Regions from separate parts of the Homo sapiens genome. Here region 2 is linked to region 1. The links are contacts of gene promoters, found by promoter capture Hi-C in human tissues and cell types (Jung and others, 2019). All regions are on one chromosome and are shown on one strand. The core of a region is centred on a gene start or on the middle of the fragment in contact, and the rest is flanking DNA. Distances in the headings are between cores, read along the strand shown. Region 1 holds the start of CLDN1 (claudin 1). Region 2 has its middle 120 kb from the start of MIR944.

Region 1 (5,697 bases), core at 524-3,023:
CTATTAAAAGTTGTCCCTTGATAGGAGGTAGACAAAACAAGTTAAGTAAACTTGAACAATGCCAACACTTTTCACCCTTAGCATGCAATGGGGGCCAGTGGGCAGTCACGTTCATCTAGGCAAAGACTAAGGGATCTTTTCTTCAAGTGAGTTAAAGGGCATAACAGACACATGATATAAGACAATTAATGTGATTTCTCAAGGAAGATACTCCAGCCGTGAATCATTATTATCTAAGTAAATGGGAATTTAATGACTTTTCGGACAAGGAACTCGAAACCTTTAATTTAAAAAACAAAGTAAAACAATTATCCTATTATCCTTCTTCCCACCATCCTTAGAAATATGTCTCTCTATACAATCCTTTCCAGTTTTACAGGGGGTCACTGAACATCCATTACACAGAAATTTCTTTGTGGAAGATGGAAACCTAAGGAAGACCCACCTCTTCTTTCTCTCTCACTGCCTTCCACTCCCAGCTGACCTCTGATTTCATCAGCTATGACTATTTTGCTGCATTTCCCTTCAGTGCCTTTACTTTTTTCTTTGTATTATGTTGCGCAGGTTATTTAGAACCTTTCTTGTCAGCCTTTCCCCACCTGCCACCAACCTTCTCTTTCCAAGATAGCACTACACCGTCAGCCTCTACAGAAGACCTTGGGTCTGAAAATTAAAACTTCGGGGGAATCTCAAGCAGCTTCTCCAAAGAGTCTTGCAAGGGGCCTCCCTGCACTAACTGGATCTTATAAATTAAAAGAATCAACCTCAAGCATAAGCAGAAGACACTTAGATAGGACATTTCCAGTAGGAATGTAACTTTTACTATGAAAAAATCATATTAAAGGTTAAAAAGTTATATCTAATACTTGAGGATTATTTATTTAAGCGTGCACACTTGAGAAGTTACCAGGCTTCAAACTTTTTCAGTCATCCCATTTTCTTGTCTGAACTCTACCAATCCTCAATTTACCCCAAATCTCGGAATGCCTAGGAGAGGTCTAAGAGCTCAAGTTCAAGTTTGGCCTTCACTCCCTCAACTCGAACCACCAGCATAGGAATTTAGGATGAAGCCACACCTAGAGTGGCAGAAGTGTCACCCAGGGAGTTAGAGGCAAAACTAGAGCTTATGCCTGGGCGTCGCTTTCCTCAAACCAGGATTCTCTTCATTTCCTTATGACAGAGCACATGATCAGAAGACTTGATCAACTGAAGACTGATAACCATGGAATCACACAACAGAATGAGCCCATAAGGGAGCTGCAGGGGGACTGGGGCCTCTGGACGGCCGCTGTGAGGTGGGGGTGCACTCACTGCTCAGATTCAGCAAGGAGTCAAAGACTTTGCACTGGATCTGCCCGGTGCTCTGCGACACGCAGGACATCCACAGCCCCTCGTACATGGCCTGGGCGGTCACGATGTTGTCGCCGGCATAGGAGTAAATCCTCCACTGGGGCAGGGCAGTGCTGACGATGGCGCCGATCCATCCCAGGAAGGCGAGAATGAAGCCCAACAGCTGCAGCCCCGCGTTGGCCATGACTCGCTCGGGCGCCCGCGCTGGCTCAGGGGTGGCAGGTGCAGAAGGCGGAGAGTTTGCAGGTGGGCAACCCGGACTCCCGAAGGTGGCTGGGCCCCGCGGAGGAAGTTAAGGCGGGGAGCCCTGCTCGCTGCGCCGCCGCTGGAGAAGCTCTGGGTCGGGGTTGGGGTCCGCGCCCGGGGCGGCGCTGGAGTCTGGATACTAGAAGCTGCGGTTGCTCCCAGGCTCGGGAACTGAGACGCAGAACCGCTGGGCGCCGCGATTTAAAGCAGCTCCGCCCGCCTCAGCCCCGGCAGCCGGGGAGCGCCCCCTGGCGGTTTCAGGGCGGCTCACCGAGAGGGCGCCGGGAGCGCCCGGTTGGGGAACGCGCGGCTGGCGGCGTGGGGACCACCCGGCAGGACCAGGCACCAGAGCTGCGTCCCTGCTCGCTTTCTCTCGTGGATCTTCTCGCTCCTGTAAGGCGTTTCACGCTTTTCATTCATTCACTCCAATTATCCAAAAATTACTATGCACTGTACTTGTAAATCCTAACACAAAGATGAAAAAATGATCCTTCAAGAGCTGCAGTTTTAGGTTTAATACTTTTTTCCCAATATCTTATTAAAAGGCATTTCTACCCAACTCCGCGTCTCCTCCCCCATCACACCATTTCTCTCTCCTTTGCTTGGCTTCCTCCCCCTTCTTTCCTCTCTCTGCTCTCTTCTGTCAAGGTCGTTCCATCACTTGTCTCTGCAAGGAGCCTCAGAGACTTTTACACTCTACAGATTGGGAAACAGACCCAGAGAGCAACATGATTTACACACACACACACACACACACACAGACACACTCACGCACGGAGCATATCCAGTACTTGGCTCCCCTCCCAATCTGCTTTCCACTACATATCAAGTTGACCCAAAATATCCCCTTTGATCTATGATTGTCCTTTTTGATGTATTATTGTCCTTATGAAACTGCAGGCTAGCAGCCCTTCCCCGCCAAACACCAACCTCCTCCCCACAGCAGTTATGTCTTAGAGCAGCAATTCATTATCAGAGGGACCTGGCCAGTGCCCCGCTCTCCCTGAAAGGTGTTAATTTTGTGAGTTATCAAATGTTGTTCGTCGCAGGTGAGGACATGTAAACAGCGTTTCCCCAGTGGCAAAAGGACTGGGCTGGAGTTGAGGAAGTCTGGGCTCTGGTTCCAGCTTTTACTGTGACTGGCTATCTCACCCCTCCGGTTTCGGTCTCGCTGGGACTGTAGTTTCCCTCTATGTTTCTCCAAAGCTTCCTTCTTTGTAGTTAGTCAGAAGTGCTGTTGTGGTTAGGAATCATTGAAATGTTTTTCCAACTGCTTTTTGTGTGTGGTGCGAGTGTGGTGGGAGGGGAAGCTTCTATGGTTTTAGTAAAAACAGAAGCATCTTGGAAGCAGAAATAAACATATTAAGGATAAAATAAGATATACCCTTATATACCATGGCAACTGCTAGTTGGTGACAGAGAAGGAAAGGTGCAAATTCTCAAGGTGGGAATGGGAAGAAAGGCCAAGCCCCACCACCTTCATTTCCACCTGGCTCTCCCTGGATGCCTTTCATGTAGGCTTAAAACTAAAGGACTTGGCCGTGCTAGGATTTAGGGACAAGCAATGAAGAATGTAAGACAGGAGCTAGATGAAGACAATTAATTTGGACTGAGATTAACACAGTGAATACTGTCTTTCTCCTATCAGCTGTTTAGGACAAGACCATGTTCGTGTTGTATCCCAGGGTTAGGGCCTGCAGTCAGTACTACTGTCTAGGTCTCAGTGGATGTTCTGTGGGTGCCTGTCAGTGTGGATGAAGATGTATCAATCACATTTGATTTTGTAAAAATTCCCTGATCAGAGAAGGCACTGGAATTTGCTGCAGGACTAGAGCAGTACCATGTGAATCATATAATCTCATTTTCTTCTTTTTTTTGTTCCAAACATTTAAGAATTAAAAGTATTATTAAACACCCGGGCACGGTGGCTCAGGCCAGGCGCAGTGGCTCACGCCTGTAATCCCAACACTTTGGGAGGCTGAGGCAGGCGGATCACTTGAGATCAGGAGTTCGAGATCAGCCTGGCCAACATGGTGAAACCCCGTCTCTACTAACAATATGAAAATTAGCCGGGCATGGTGGTGGGCGCCTGTAATTCCAGCTACTTGGGAGGCTGAGGTAGGAGAATTGCTTGAACCCGGGAGGCGGAGGTGGCAGTGAGCCCAGATCGTGCCACTGCACTCCAGCCTGGGCAACAGACCAAGACCCCATCTCAACAAATAAATAAATAAATAAATAAACAAATAAATGACATTTTCTGCGTTCAGTAAATATATTTGTGCACAGGCCCTTTTACTCTGCATTACAACTGGTTTCTATCAACCTACAATTAGCGGGGAATCGGAGGGATGAGTTCTGTGGTCAGCAGGGTCCCGTGTTTTTGTTTTGTATTTCAGGTCTGTGCGAGGCTGATTACTTCACTACCCACAACCATGTTTGTGAGGCTGAGGTGAATGCTGTTTGCTTCACTGTGATTCAGGCCCATCTCTAGGCATCCTTAATCCTGTCTAGTTTTCTGCTCCTAGCTTAAGTGCAGAGGACAGGTGAGATAATGGCTCAGCATAAATCTATCAACTTAAGAGGAAAAACAGCTTCCAAATACTGGCCTTTCATATCTGAAACATAAACAGTAAAGGCAGCACTGAGACCAAGAAGGCTCTAGAAAGGCTGGCAATGGTATGGTAAGTGTCCTAGCCTGTTGAGTAGTAAAATCTGCTATGTACCCTCAGACAAATTACTTCTTTTCTTCCTCAGTTTCCCTACCAATAAAAGGGATGGGGTTAATTTCTGAAAGTCACCCAAGTCTAAAGCTTTATGACTCTAAGTAATGACAGCTGGCACTTGTTGCTGTATATTTTCATCAAGTGTTGAGGTCAGAGTTTTATATGCTATCTCTACGTGCAGGTAACAGACACAGAGAGGTCAGGCTGCTTATCCAAGTTCATATTGAATATGGCAGCGCTGGAATTCCAAACTATATAATTTGACGCTCGTGTCCATGCCTTTGACTGCTCTCCTGCAGTATTTCTCTGTGTGACCCAAATCAATCGAGGACAATTTTTTTTTTCTTCTTTGGAAGAGCTTAGACATACTTATCATGTGTTTCTTGCTCCAGGCAGTGGCAAGATATTTTACTCTGTGACTGTCTCTTCTTAATATCTGTTGCAGCCCACTGAGGTTTTATACCCTGGGGATTTAGAATCATGTGGCAAAAAGTTGTTGCTGTTGAGGAGGAAGAGATGTGTAAAAACAGCAAATAGCGTACTGGTTTATTCCATGTGCTTGTGCGACTGATGCTTGGGCTTAGCCATGATCTTGAGAACCAATAATAAGTAGAAGAGATATACACATAAAAGACAGAAGCAAAGGTAAGACTGTGAGTGTCAGAAGAGAGTGTAGACAAAGAACCAAGCCTCTAAGAGGCAGCATGGCAGATTCTCAGAAATGGTTAATGATGACAGTATGAAAGCCATTGGGATGTTAATTTTTTTGCTTAGTGTTAATATATGTTAATGTTGACTTTTCAGAGCTTCTTAAGTGGTAAAAGCAGAACGAATGAACACATTACTAAGTAAGCAATCTGCTGTGTAATTATTTAGGGCTTGAGAAAAGGATCAGAGTACAAATATTGTATAAATTTAACATGAATTTTAGTATTAAAACATTCAGGTTACTAAAACTGCATTGCTGTGTGACTGACACAACCTTTTAAAATGGCCCTTTGAAGCTCCTTGGAGTCTTTGAGAGGGTAGTGAGGGGTAGTGGTTAAAAGCACAAACCTTTTGAATCCCATTACTGCCACTTAAAGTAACCTTGAGAAATTTGCATAACATCCTTGTGACTCACATTTTTTCTTCTTTTGAATGGCTCAAACCCTAGTGCTGTTATGAACATTAAACAAGTTCAGACATGCACATTATTTAAAATAGTAGCTGGTATAGAGCAAGCATACATGAAACAGTACTTATTATTTCAAGCAGATCAGATACGTTCCATTTCTGATCCTGCCATTTGCAAATGATCCTCATGTTTGTTCAGGAGGACTCTTTCATGCTTCGATTCTGTTACAGTCCCACTGAATGTCATAGTTAAATCGTAGTG
Region 2 (5,437 bases), core at 474-2,973, 370 kb before region 1:
TACAATCTATAACCACCTGTGTCGAGCTCTCCCAAACTTCAGAATCCTCCCTGAGGTTTACAGGATCAAGCCCCAATGCCTCAGTTTAGCTTTCGATCAAGCCCTCGGTAACCTGTAGGTAGCCTAACAGCTGTGACTTTTCCTTTTAATTTCACATCCCAAACCCTCTTTTCCAGAGGAGTCTATGTTACAAATTTATGGTTTCCTGCTGCAGTAGCAGGGAGGAAAACCAGTTTTGGATCCCAGCAGTACTAGTGACTGTGTGAGCTTAAGCTAGTCACTTTCCCTCTAAAAGCCTTGATTTTCTCATAGTAAAATTAGGATAATAATACCTATAGAGCTGAAGTCACAGGATTACAGCAAGGGCAAAATGACATCATGGTTGTGAAAGCAGCTACCCGTGTGAGCCACGATGACTATTATAAGCAGTAGAGGTAAGTAATACTTGTCAGGGTAGTGGTTGTCAACAATTAGTGTTGATATTCATGGCAATGCATGACTTACTGATTTTTTTAATGTTGTCTATTTTATCTTTTATATATTTTATCTTTACCACTCCATATCATACTCGTCATTTAAGAAACAACTCTAGACTAACTTCCTGCCAAATACTTCCTGGGTCACACTAGCCTACCGAACTGAACTCTGCTGTCCTCAAAAACCTCCAAAACATATACCCTTTGCATTCAGGCATGTACCACATGTATCATTTCATATCATGTTCCCACCTGGACTATAAATGCAACATCTCATGCTTGTTTAGCATTTCTCTAAATGCTGAGAACATAGTAGATGTTAAATCAAGACTTGCTAAAATGAACGAATGAATGAATGCATAGAGGCATCTTTCTTTTTTATTTTTAACCCCTCACAGCAAAATATGCTAATAGTGCCCTCTGCTGCTGACTAACGATTCTGTTTTTTACACAGTTGAAAAGCAAGTGACAGAAAGCTCAGTAAAAGGAAATAGGTAAAAATTGTGTCTTTCAAGGTGCTTGGCACAAACAAAGTAGCTGTAATGTCACAGTGCAGACAGAAAGCTAGGCTGTCAGAAGGACCAAATGAGGTGGCTGCAGACAAGACAAGCCTCTCTTTTCTGGACTGCTGATTGACAACCAGCTTGGAGTTCAAACACTCTCAATTTTGTAATTTTGTAACAAGTTTCTCTTCTCCTGTGCCCCTGCCCTAGCAATAAGTGTGTTATATATGATCAGACTATTTCTAAATGTAACTGTATGAAAATTAACCTTGAAGGTTCTGAGGTTGATCAAGGGATAATGCACTAAAAAAAAAAAAGTCATGAGAGCAGGTGAAATATTGCCAGAGAATTCACAGTCCTATTCATTTTCCTTCATTTTAGGTGTTCTGATATAGTCACAAGTCATTGTCTTTTAATGATTACCTGCTATGTGTTCGGCTCTCTTTTTATAATCTCAATTAATCTTTCTTCTTTTCTTTCTTACTCTTTTTCTTTCTTTCTTTTTCTTTCTTCTTTCTCTTTCTTCTTTGTTTCTCCTTTCTTTCTTTCCTTTCTCCTTCCTTCCTTCCTTCCTTCCTTCTTTCCCTCTTCCCTTCTCTTCCCCTTCCCTCCCCTCCCCTCCCCCACTCCCTGCCCCTCTCCTCCCGTCCCCTCCCCTTCCCTTCCTGACAGTATCTCCATATGTTGCCGAGCCTGGTCTCAAACTCCTGGCCTCAAGTGATCCTCCAGCCTTGGCCTCCTAAAGTGCTCAGATTACAGGCATGAGCCATCATGCCTGGCCAATGAAATCTCTAGATAACTTATGAAATAGATATTACCAGCCTTTTCTTTATAGATAAAGACACTGAACAGATGTGCGTTAAAGGCCAGTAAAAGGCAGAAAGGGCTGCAAGTCCATGGTAACACAGTCTGCACTCTTCTCTGCAATTCCATAGCTTCTCAGTGTGGTCTGCCGCTCTAGGAGTCAGAGGAGCTGGTTTTGAGTCCATATTTCTACCACTAACATTTCAGTAAAGTTGAGTAACTCACATTTCTCCACCTCTAAAATAAAGGGCATAAGGTCAGGTGCTTTCTAAGGTCCCTTCCAACTTGGAGTCAGTTGTTTGCAGTGTCGTTCACTTGCTAAGCTATAAATACAAAGCACAATTGTGGCTATGATTCTTCCTTGGGGTCCCTACCATGGACTTGATCTTCCCTGTTTAGCCTGCTCTGATGAGTTAAACGTTGACCTCAGATCAATAATGAAAAGCCCTCTGTGCTGACGTTGATGGTCATTCAAATATCATTCTATTTAATTTGTAAATCCTTCTACACATAAATGACATGTTTTGACCACAGAGTTCAAGGCATGATAGTTTATTTCATGCTGATTCTGAAGGTAGGGCAGTTTTCAGTTTTGGCACGCCAATTTGTCACATTTGACATTTTTGACAATCAGCCTTTAGCTGGTAAGTGGCTTGGTGGGCAACGTGTCCCTAGTTAATAGGCACACCCCGATAGCTCACAGTCTCCGGGGACAGCCATCTCTGCAGCATGCCTAGCCTTTGAAGCGGCTCACGCGTTCTTCAAAGCAAACTTTCTGGTACAGGGAGCAACATCTGATGTACTTTTATTACCCTTAGAGACAAAAAAAACATCACTCAGAAGCCAAACGTCTGCAAGGAAAAATCTGTACCCTGTGCTTAGCCCTGCGGCCTGGAAGTTCAGAGAAGGCTGAAAGTGCTCCCTGTGAGGAAACCAGGGCATGTTTAGACAGAGCTTTAATCATGTCTAACCAACTCAGAGCAGTGGCAGCAGCCATCTTGCTGAAGATGTCGCCTCCTTCTGGATTTGCACTGGAGTGTGGGGGAGTGGGTGAGATCTAGTGTCAGATAAGCTCATAATAATTCCTACTGCTTCCTAGTTATTCAAAACATCAAAACTGCAAAATCTTCTTAGAGAGTTCAGCAACTTTTTTTTAACTCGAGGAACTGACATCTACTGACTTTGACTTCTGTCAAATTATTTATCTATTCTGGTGTTTTATTTTTTCCACTATATGAGAATAATCATCACATCTATTGGGATGTCGTGAAAAACTTAGTGAACCCAATGCTAAACGATGAAGTGGACTACTTTCCCAGAAATCTTTACTCTGTCTAGGCAAGGGAGCTTCAACAATACCGCCCATGCCTGTTCTTTACTTAATACTAAGTAGCTAAAGTTAGAATAAATTGCAGATTAAGACCACTGAGAATCCAGCTGTCCTAAAAGATGTTTACACCTTTATCTGGGATGCTGAAGGGTTGAAAATCTCCAAGTAGTCTTTATTTAATTAACCAATGTTAACTTCAAAGAAATATAATTCTGGTTCATATTACCTTGTGAAAAAAAAGTCCTGAAATTCTGAACTTGAAATATAATAAAAATTCTAGCATCTATTCAGTAAATGTTGCTAAACACTGGACTATCGTGATAGACCAGAATATTACTCCAGTGACCGGAAGCCTTGAAGTCAGCTTCTGAGCCTCAGGGACTCTATAATTTATTCTAAATCTAAGTAGTCTGATTGCCTAAGACCTTCAAAGGCATTTGCAAAGTTTAACACACCAAAAAACAGGTACAGAGAACAAAAAGGGTGATTGGATGCTTGTTGCTTTATGTCCTATTTGACCCTTTGGTTTTAAATGAGGTAAATTGCTCCAATTAACTCCTGTTGGAGATGGTTTTCTTTCAATGATTCCTTCTGTTCCTTGTTTGACATTGGAAAAGATGTCATTAGTAAAGCATTACATGGCTTTCGGGTTTTATTAAAAGACTGACTGAGTTTACCAAATGCTAGGCTTTTCAGACAACATACCTGTGTGCTGCAATATTGTCATTATTCCCATTTCTGATACGAAAGTCTAATAATTTGAGTGAAGTAGATTAGTTCCAGGTCATGTAGGGTAGAAAGTTTCATGGACTTATGGGCAGAGGAATATGCTGCTGGTAGAGCCCATTGACTTTAGTCTCAACGATGAATTCACGTCAGCTATTTCTGATAGTAGCTACTCCTCTGCTTTTCAGAAGGAAGCTCAGTCCTTCAGGGCTTTCACACTACCCACTTGAATAATACCTCCCTTGCAAGTGAATACAATAAAACTTACTCTTTAACTGGTATTTATTAAGATTTTCACAGCATTCATTAAACTGCTTTCCGAAGGCTATCTCATTCCACTCCACCCCAAAACACCAACTTTCTGAACTCTCATTTTCTCCGAAGGCTCAGTCCTTTAGAACCCAAGAAATCATTCAGTTCAAATGCAACACTTTTCAGCTGAGGACACTGTGATGCAATGAGAGGTTAAGTGGCTCATTCCCACGTATTGGTGGCAGATCAGTCAGGCCAGATCCAGCTCACCTGTCACCTTCTCTCCAACTTTTCCCTACCACTAACCACTCCTTTCCCACTTGCATGACCTTTCCTCCTACCCCTATCACAATCCTCTGCCGTAACATTCACCTTACTTTAAGTTGATCATTTGTTTACATCTGTTTTTTTCCACTTTGAGTTCCTTAAAAGAAGGGATAACATTTTATTCATCTTTAAATGCCTCCCTAAGCCTACAACGGCACGGCCACTCAAAAACTCTCTGTGAAATGAATTCATACATGACCAGGGCTTTACGACATCACCTTCTCTGTGCCTGTTTGTTTTTTCCCATTTACACAATGAAGATGGCATTGACGTGTCTCTCAAGATAATTATGTAGTTACATATGATTGCTACGTGCTTCAAGACCATAAAAAAGCTTTATAAAGCCAACCACGATTACAACCTTTGAAACAATGGAATATACGATTAACAAGTGGAAAGAGATGAGACATACCAGGTAATGCTTATTGTCCATTCCCTATTTCTACCTCCACCCACCACCAGGTAGTAACTCAGAGGTAAAAACATAAACTTGGAATAAGAGAGGAGGGTTTACCTCGGGTCTGGATAAGATTATTAGGACCGATGTCATCACGCTGCCGTCATGCGGGAAGGCACCTAGGTCTGATGAGAGAGGCCCAGGGCAAGATTCCCATATATATAGGTAACACTCAATTCACTGTTGAAATGAGGCTCAAATCAAGAAGGCACGTGGCCTTATCTATTCGAAATTGATTCGTCCTTCAAAAGCAGAAGATATCAGATAATTATAAAAGGGACTGTTAAGGTAGAAAGACTGTCAAACTCTAGGCTACCCTGGCTCTCCTCTGTGGCCATTCTACCAAAATAAAGAGAGGGGGTACAGCATGTCTTATTCACCTTTTGTTCTCCCTTCTCCTAAATGTACCATATAAAATGACTAGAAAACATGTGTCATATGTTGACTAAACGAAGCATTCATTTAGATTTTCCTCCCCAGCAACATGTCTGGAAAAAAAATGATAGGAACATCTTGTTTGGTTATTTTTATTGCGGGCCCTTAATAAGATAGTTGAAGCCAG

Evidence for each region. Contacts are between HindIII fragments. The study calls those that stand out against the background at their distance.
Region 2: a fragment that was not itself captured here is called in contact with the fragment with the promoter of CLDN1 in region 1 in 2 of the 25 tissues and cell types used here (lymphoblastoid cells and mesendoderm cells).

The regions. Positions count from the first base shown.
Region 1 is chr3:190,320,673-190,326,369 of GRCh38, forward strand. CLDN1 (claudin 1) reads right to left here and starts at 1,774. Exons shown (of 4, transcript NM_021101.5): 1 at 1,312-1,774. The coding sequence starts at 1,534. It also overlaps a transcript of CLDN16 not described here. RefSeq lists a silencer at 1,765-1,924. The HindIII fragment of the contact is 5,719 bases long and covers 1-3,656 here.
Region 2 is chr3:189,947,751-189,953,187 of GRCh38, forward strand. No RefSeq gene overlaps it. Among named protein-coding and RNA genes, the nearest start is that of MIR944, 120 kb to the left of the region's middle. The HindIII fragment of the contact is 8,182 bases long and covers 1-5,437 here.